Regions from separate parts of the Homo sapiens genome. Here region 2 is linked to region 1. The links are contacts of gene promoters, found by promoter capture Hi-C in human tissues and cell types (Jung and others, 2019). All regions are on one chromosome and are shown on one strand. Each heading gives the region's core, a stretch centred on a gene start or on the middle of the fragment in contact. The rest is flanking DNA. Distances are from core to core; before and after follow the strand shown. Region 1 holds the start of EPHX3 (epoxide hydrolase 3). Region 2 overlaps TPM4 (tropomyosin 4).

Evidence for each region. Contacts are between HindIII fragments. The study calls those that stand out against the background at their distance.
Region 2: a contact is called between a fragment that was not itself captured here and the fragment with the promoter of EPHX3 in region 1, in 1 of the 25 tissues and cell types used here (dorsolateral prefrontal cortex).

Annotation. Positions count from the first base shown.
Region 1 is chr19:15,230,034-15,234,549 of GRCh38, reverse strand. It overlaps EPHX3 (epoxide hydrolase 3), which reads left to right and starts at 2,102. Exons shown (of 7, transcript NM_024794.3): 1 at 2,102-2,581; 2 at 2,689-2,774; 3 at 3,154-3,311; 4 at 3,460-3,588. The coding sequence starts at 2,339. RefSeq lists a silencer at 1,353-1,512 and an enhancer at 1,851-2,352. The HindIII fragment of the contact is 16,546 bases long and covers 1-4,516 here.
Region 2 is chr19:16,086,246-16,090,541 of GRCh38, reverse strand. It overlaps TPM4 (tropomyosin 4), which reads right to left. Exons shown (of 8, transcript NM_003290.3): 3 at 4,002-4,119; 4 at 2,445-2,515; 5 at 1,422-1,497. Among named protein-coding and RNA genes, the nearest start is that of TPM4, 12 kb to the right of the region's middle. RefSeq lists an enhancer at 4,005-4,054. The HindIII fragment of the contact is 7,259 bases long and covers 1-4,296 here.

The sequences.
Region 1 (4,516 bases), core at 853-3,352:
GAGGATTGCTTGAGGCCAGGAGTTTGAGACCAGCCTGGACAATATAGCAAGTCGTCTCTCTGAAAAGTTTTTGAAAAATTAGCTGAGTGTGGTGGCACAGGCCTGTAGTCCCAACTACAGGTTGTAGTGCTTGAGCCCAGGAGTTCGAGGCTGCAGTGAGCTATGATCGAAACTCCATCTGAAAAAAAAAGAAAAAGCTAAAAACGTTCCAGTGGCTGCTTCCGGGAGGAAGGGGAGGTGTAGCCACAGATCGCTGCCTTTTTCCCTACATCTTTGCGGATGGCTATTTTACAAGATGTATGTCTTCAGGCAAATGACTTCATCCTCGAATTTCAGGTTCATGATCTATACTACAGGAATGTGATTATGCTACTTAGACTTAATAGGGTTGCTCTATGGTTAAGTGATGGCTGTCCCTAAAATGTTCAAGGATATCGGGAGAAGGTTGCAAAATAGGAGGAAGAAGCTGGCTGCTTTTTTTTTTTTTTTTGAGACGGAGTCTCGCTCTGTCGCCCTGGCTGGAGTGCAGTGGCGCAATCTCAGCTCACTGCAACCTCCGCCTCCTGGGTTCACGCCGTTCTCCTGCCTCAGCCTCCCTAGTAGCTGGGACTACAGGCGCCCGCCACCACGCCTGGCTAATTTTTTGTATTTTTAGTAGAGACAGGGTTTCACCATGTTAGGATGGTCTCGATCTCCTGACCTCGTGATCCGCCCGCCTCGGCCTCCCAAAGTGCTGGGATTACAGGCGTGAGCCACCGCGCCTGGCCAGAAGCTGGCTTCTTGCAGGGACAGCAGGGCCGCAAGGCTCTGTGACTCTAGGCCCCATCACACCCGGCCCTGTCCCACTTCCTCTTTCGGCCAGAACCCCAGAACTCCAGTCATTCATAGGCCGGGTCCTCCTCGGGGGAACCAGGCCTGCCCCCTAGGAATCAGGGTATCCACGCCTCCTCGGCCCGCTCTCGGAGCCTGGGCCTCAACACCTGCAGATTGGCTCCCGGGCCAGGACCTGTCGCTTGAACATCAGTGGCCGCCGCCGTCCAATCACAGACGTACAGGGGCGGGCTGGCGGGCCTGTTGGGCCAGCAGGAGGACGGCGCCGGGCCGAGGCCGCTGGACCCGCCGTTGGAACCACAGCTGGGTGAAGTCAGTGCTGCTAGGTCTTTGGAGCCAGACCGAAGGGAGGGTCGCGCGCCCCTGGGTGGGTAGCACCAGGCGGCGGCCGTCGGCCGGGCCTCCCGAAGCCTCCTCCAGCCGCTAATACCGCCCGCGCCTCCCTCCTAGTCCTAGACCTGGCATTGCCTGTCCCTCTTCTTCGTCTTCCAGACCCTCCTGACCCGCCATATTAGGTCCCGGCCCCGCCCTCCGTCTCATTGCCCATTGCCCACCCCACCCCACCGCCCCCTCCCCGGCCTACCGTCAGCTCATTGGCCCAGGCTCCCGCCTTCTTCGCCCAATGTTAGGCCTCACCTCCTCTAGGATCCACCCTCTCCCCGCCCACCCGCATAAGCCAGGCCCACCATTCCAACTCTTTCTCCTTTTTGGCTTGTAGGCCGCACCTACTCTGCATATGCCCCGCCCCTCACTCCAGGTGTCGCCCACTTAACTGAAGATCCAGGATCCCCTCCTTAAGGTTTGTCTGGGCTCGGAATTGCCTTTTTTTTTTTTCTTTTTTGAGACGGAGTTTCCCTGTTGTGACCCAGGCTGGAGTACAGTGGCGCGATCTCAGCTCACTGCAACCTCCACGTCCCGGGTTCAAGCGATTCTCCTGCCTCAGCCTCCCAAGTAGCTGGGACTACAGGCGCCCGCCACCACGCCCAGCTAATTTTTGTATTTTTAGTAGAGACGGGGTTTCACCACGTTGCCCAGGCTGGTCTCGAGCTCTTGATCTCAGGTGATCCGCCCGCCTCGGCCTACCAAAGTGCTGGGATTACAGGCGTGAGCCACCGCACCCGGCCCGGAATTGCCGCCTTTAGACCCTCACCCACCCGCTGCTGAGTCTTCCTGGGCCCCGCCCCGGCCCTAAGCCCCGCACAGGACCTGCTAGGCCCCGCCCATTTATTTCCCCCCTTTCCAACCTCTTCCTCCCCAGCCTCCGCACCCTACCCTTGTTTCCTGTCCCTGTCGCGCCCAGGTGTTTACCTGGCACTCAGGTGAGTGGTGCGCTCTGGCTGTTTTCTGTCGGAGCCGCCCGCCTCTTCCTTCAGCGCGTCCCACAAATCCCGACGGCACGGAGGGGCCCCAGGCCAAGGGCGATGGGCCCCTGAGCCCTGACACCGCTTCGCCGCTGCTGCAGGTGCCCCTGGCCGGCAGCGCCGCCGTGGTCCCGGAGCGCGGCGACATGCCGGAGCTGGTGGTGACCGCGCTGCTGGCGCCGTCGCGCCTGTCGCTGAAGCTGCTGCGCGCCTTCATGTGGAGCCTGGTGTTCTCGGTGGCGCTGGTGGCCGCGGCGGTCTACGGCTGCATAGCGCTCACGCACGTGCTGTGCCGGCCCCGGCGCGGCTGCTGCGGGCGCCGTCGGAGCGCGTCCCCCGCCTGCCTGAGCGACCCCTCGCTGGGTGAGCACGGTTTCCTGAACCTCAAGGTGATCGCACGGGGGCGCTATCGGGGCTGCGGGGTCGCGTGGGGTCGAGACGGTTCAAGCCTCGGGAGAGAGGGTTCCCCAGGCTTCAGGCTGTGCCCTCCCCCTAGAGCTCGGGCCTGCGTCTGCACTATGTCTCGGCTGGACGAGGTAACGGACCCCTCATGCTGTTTCTGCACGGCTTCCCTGAGAACTGGTACGTCTGGGGCCAGGGGCCTGAGGCCCACGGGACTCGGGGGCAGGTGGAGCTTGGGCTCCCAAGAGGCAGGGAGGAGGGCTGTATAGATCGGGACAAGCTGAACATAGATGGGGATAGGGGTACTGAGCCAGCATACCCAGGATCCCTAGGCCCTGAAGGGACAGGACAAAGGGGTATTGAGGTTGATTGAAGTTCCCTGGATTCAGGGTGTAGCTGGCTTCAGCCTCAGCCTCTGCCTCTGCCTGGGATTCCCCATCCTCCTTTTAGGGGAAGTTTAGAGCAGGAAGGAGGGTTTGCCAATGGTTGCTGATGTGCGTAGGGTGCAGGTGCAACCTGAGGGCCCTGACTCAGCCTCCCTCCCTCGCCCGCCTGGCAGGTTCTCCTGGCGTTACCAGCTCCGGGAGTTCCAGAGCCGCTTCCATGTTGTGGCTGTGGACTTGCGAGGCTATGGCCCCTCGGATGCACCTCGGGATGTGGACTGCTACACAATCGACCTGCTGCTGGTGGACATCAAAGATGTCATCCTAGGCCTGGGTGCAGACATACCCCCATCCTAGGCGTGGCCTCCCTCATCCTGCACACACGCATACCCCCGCTTTCTCCTTGCTGGAACCTACTTCCCCCATCCCTGCTTCAGTCCTACTGGGCACCTCACTTATGCGAGCTCCTTGAATTCCCACAGGTTACTCGAAGTGCATCCTTGTGGCCCATGACTGGGGTGCCCTCCTTGCCTGGCATTTCTCCATCTACTACCCATCCCTGGTCGAGCGGATGGTTGTGGTCAGTGGTGCCCCCATGTCGGTGTACCAAGGTGTGTGTGGGAGTCCGGGACACTGGGATGTACTTATGTGCAAGGGGGCAGGGACATGTGTCTGTGTTTTCAATTCTCTGTATACCTGTCAACACATCAGGGGCTGAGGGTGCAGCAATCAACCCAGGTCCCTTCGGTTGTGGAACTCCTCATTCGGAAATTAATGACACGCCAGACCCAGTGGCTCACACCTGTAATCCCAGCCCTCCGGGAGGCTGAGGTGGGAGGATCACTTGAGGCCAGGAGTTCAAGACCAGTCTGGTCAACATAGCAAGACCCCAACTGTCTCTACAAAAAAAAAAAAAAAATGTAATTAGCCAGGCATTGGTGGTGCATGCCTGTAATCCCAGCTACTCGGGAGGCTGATGCAGGAGAATCTCTTGAACCTGGGAGGTGGAGGTTGCAGTGAGCTGAGATCATGCCATTGCACTCCAGCCTAGGCAACAAGAGCAAAACTCCATCTCAAAAAATAAATAAATAAAATAAAGTATGGCCAGGCGTGGTGGCTCCTGCCTGTAATCCCTGCACTTTGGGAGGCCAAAGCCGGTGGATTGCTTGAGCCCAGGGGTTCAAGACCAGCCTGGCCAACATGGTGAAACCCCGTCTCTACTAAAAATACAAAAAAATCAGCCAGGCATGGTAGTGCACGCTTGTAGTCTCAGCTACTCGGGAGGCTGAGGCAAGAGAATCACTTGAACCTGAGAAGTGGAGGTTGCAGTAAGCCAAGATCGCACCACTGCACTCCAGCCTGGATGACAGAGTGAGACTCTGTCTCAAAAATAAAATAAAATAAAATAAATCACAATACACTTAGGAGTAATCCACATTTTTTTATAGCACTTACAGTAACAAGGAATATGCACACAGTAACCTACTTAAGGCTCCTGGGCTTATGAAGGTTGTATTATCCCCATGTTCCAGCTGGAGG
Region 2 (4,296 bases), core at 1,337-3,836, 860 kb before region 1:
CGGCCTCCCAAAGTAATCCCAGCACTTTGGGAGGCCAAGGTGGGAGGATCACTTGAGGCCAGGAGTTCAAGACCAGCCTGGCCAACATGATGAAACCTTGTCTCTACCAAAAACTAGAAAAATTAGCCAGGCACGGTGGCCCACGCCTGTAATCCCAGCACTTTGGGAGGCTAAGGTGGGAGGATCACTTGAGGCCAGGAGTTTAAGACCAGCCTAGGCAACATAGACTGTGCTCTATAAAAAAAAAAAAAAAAATACAGTTTTGGAGTAGTGGCACATGCCTGCAAGTCCTAGCTACTCAGGAAGCTGAGGTGATAGGATTATTTAAGCCCAGGAGTTTGGGGCCTGCAGTGAGCTATGATCACGCCACTACACTTCCAGCCTAAGCAACAGAGCAAGATCTCATCTCTAGGCCAGGTGCAGTGGGTCATGCCTGTAATCCCAGCACTTTGGGAGGGCGAGGCGGGCAGATCACTTGAGATCAGGAGTTCGAGACCAGCCTGGCCAATGTGGTGAAACCTCATCTCTACCAAAAATTATAAAAATTAGCGTGTAATCGGGAGGCTGAGGTGGGAGAATTGCTTGAACTTGGGAGTCGAAGGCTGCAGTAAGCTGAGATCACGCCACTTCACTCCAGCCTGGGTGACAGAGTGAGACCCTGTCTCAAAAAAAAAGAAAAGAAAAAAAAAGGCTGAATAGGGGTTTATCAAGCAAAAGGAAAGCCACACCCAGTTGAGTGAATAGCAGGTGGTGGCTGAGGTGGGAGGATCGCTTGAGCCTGGGAGTTCAAGGCTGCAATGAACTATGATCATGCCACTGAATTCCAGCCTGGGCAACAGAGCGAAGCTCTGTCTCAAAAAAAAAAAAAAAAAAGTGGGGGGTGGAGGTGATGGGAGAACAAAGAATGTCTGTGAAACTGCAAAAGCAGGAGCAAGAATGAGGAAGAGGCTGGGAAATTCAGTGGGGTTCGGCCGTGGAAGTGTGTCCTTTGTTCCCGACGTAGCTGCCACGTAGCAACTGCTTTGGGTGCTGTTTCAAACTAAAAAGCCCAATTCCACCTCTGATCATTGCTATACCTTTGAGATGGTATTTCTGGAGGAACCAGGGGAATCAGGTGAGAGGCAGGCTCTGTATTTATTTATACAACTATGCTCAGATCTCGCTAAGAAGAGCCTCATGTTCTATCTCTATCCTCCTGAGATGGAGATCAAAGATGGTGCTCAGACCCCATGGAAGAGGACTCAAGAGTGTGCAGGAGAAATCCAGCTCTTTCTGTAGGGGAAAAACCCTGGCTGCCAGGCACCAACGCTACTGTTAAATAAAGGGCAGATTCCCCATAACCTGACAGGCTCCTGCATCCCTCGGGAGAAGAAAAGAACAAAGTCCAGCAAGCCACCCTCCAGCTCAAGCCAACCACCTACCTTTTCAGATGCAGCCTCCAGAGATTTCAGATTGTTAGTAACATTCTTGAGTTCTTCTTCCAGGTCACCACATTTTCTGCACAAAGACAAAGGATTTTTGTGTCTTATCTTCCCTTACAGCCGGCAATAATAGCAATCGCCCCAACAATAAATTTTCCAAAGGAGAAACCTACACAGCTCCCCCGGTGGGGGGCAGAAGGAATGTGGGGAGAAAATGTTAATGGATTTTTCTGCAGTGTGATACTATGGGCTTATCAAAGGCTTATCATACCAGGCAGAGGCGAGGTGCGCCCGAAGAGTATTTGGAGGGCTTGGAAAACACTCCTGGTCTTTTGCCAAGGGTAAGGCTGCAAGGACTTGTGAAATCTATGATTGATGAGGCCGACTCCGGAAGGTGTAAGAATGGGACTGAGGGCAGAAGGCGGGCAGAGAGCAATGGGAGTTTGCAGGGGACACTCCGGGAAGGAAGCCCGGAGTGGATTTGTGAAACCAGATCTCTCTCAGCACTCCCGGATGCTCTGTGGGGCTGAATTCCTCACCCGGGGCCAAGAGGACAGGTGTTTTGTTTTTCGGTGCTTGCTTGTGGGATTCTGGTTAAGCTTCTCACCTTCCCGCCAGGAATGTGTCACGGCCAAACACTGACAGGAGCAAAAGCATTTACATACTGACCGGGGGAGCCTGCCTTCTGGAGCAGGTCAGTGTTCTGTTAAGATGGCACAGCCCCCTGAGATATCCTCTCTGGGAAAATGGGACTTCTGGGCTTCCCTGCTGCCTCCTGTCTCACTCCTATTTCCTCATATCTTTGCAGAAAGGGTCAACACGTGGGCAGTGCTTCCCATGGCAGTAAGAACAAGTCACCACCTCTTTGTCACAGAAGCCAAGAGAAAAGATGAGCCATGAGCCCCTGACGCCCGTCCACTTGAGCAGAGACCCCGGTCAGAGCCAATTCCCAACACAGCCAGCTCCTTCCCACTCCGCCCCAGGAATCGAGCCAGCCTCGCTCAGTCCTGTTCTGCCACTCACAGTTCAGACACCTCCGCACGCTCCTCTGCCCTCTCCAGCTCACCCTCCAGGATGACCAGCTTACGAGCTACCTGCAGAGACAGAAAGGCCCAGCTGAGCCCGATCCCCACCAGCCGTGTCCTCTCCCATCCACTGCAGACAGCCCCCAATGATGCCCCACCCAGACCCCTAGACCAGCTGCAACATGGGTTTTTCTGGTGTTTCTTTTTTTTGCAGGGGGACGGAGTCTCCCTCTGTTGCCCAGGCTGGAGTGCAGTGGCACAGTCTCGGCTCACTGCAACCTCCACCTCCTGGGTTCAAGCGATTCTCCTGCCTCAGCCTTCCAAGTAGCTGGGACTACAGGCGCGTGCCACCACGCCCAGCTAATTTTTGTATTTTCAGTCGAGATGGGGTTTCACCGTAGTGGCCAGGCTGGTCTCGAATTCCTGACCTCCTGATCCACCTACCTCGGCCTCCCAGAGTGCTGGGATTATAGGCATGAGCCACCACACCTGGCCTCTTTTTTATTTTTTTATTCTTTTGAGACAGAGTCTCGCTCCATCACCCAGGCTGAAATGCAGTGGCTCAACCTTGACTCACTGCAACCTCTGCCTCCTGGGTTCAAGTGAATCTCCTGTCTCAGCCTTCCAAATAGCTGGGCTTACAGGCATGCACGACCATGCCCGGCTAATTTTTGTATTTTTTGTAGAGACAGGGTTTCACCACGTTGGCCAGGCTGGTCATGAACTCCTGACCTCAGGTGATCTGCCTGCCTTGGCCTCCCAAAGTGCTGGGATTACCGGCGTGAGCCACCATGCCCAGCCCTTTTATGTTTTTGACAGAGGGTCTTGCTCTGTCTCCAAGGCTGGAGTGCAGTGGCGTGGTCAGAGCTCACTGCAGCCTTGACTTCCCAGGTTCAAGCGATCCTCCTGCCTCAGCCTCCCAAGTAGCTGGGACTACAGGTGCATGCCACCACACCCAGCTAATTATTATTATTATTATTTTTAGAAATGGGGTCTCACTATGTTGCCCAGGCTGGTCTCAAACTCCTGGCCTCAGGTGATCCTCCCGCCTCGGTCGAAGTGCTGGGGTTACAGGTACGAGCCACCGCGCCTGGCCTTTTGCTGGCGCTTCAACTGAAAGAGCCATCCTGGGGCCTGGAGGAAATCCTGATTCTCTTCCTCAAGCCTGAGGAGCGAGGCAGACAAGAGGCGGGAGGGAAGAGCCGAGCCATCGAGGGAGGCAAAGGAGGGCCTGAGCTTGCATGGTCTGAAACTCCATGGCTTGGGACCACAATCCTCCATTTTTGCCCAACTGTGCCAAAACTCCCAGCTAACGACACAAGTGAGCTGATCATTCGGTTTTCCCATTACGTTAGACAAGCGTCCGCAGCACTTTCTGGCATCGTGGGAGATAGTTTCCTAGCCAAGTGGTTGTCTCTGGACAAACATATGTTCACGCAGGAGGACAGCTGACCTAACCGAGAGCTTCCTTTCGTTGGCCCCGGTGTCCTCCCTATCTCAGCAGATGCATTTCCTCCCACTTCCTGCTGCTGCGCCATCTGCCAGCCCCACTCACCTCCTCGTATTTGCGGTCAGCCTCTTCCGCAATGTGCTTGGCCTCTTTGAGCTGCATCTCCTGAATCTCCATCTTCTCCTCATCCTTCATGGCCCGGTTTTCTATCACCTTCATTCCTCTGCAAGGAGCAATCTCATCAGGACGGCCGTTCACTCACACCCCTCCACCCACCTCTCATCTATCTTTTCTTTCAGATGGAGTCTCGCTCTGTCATCCAGGCTGGAGTGCAGTGGCACGATCTCAGCTCACTGCAACCTCCACCTCCCGGGTTCAAGCGATTCTCCTGCCTCAGCCT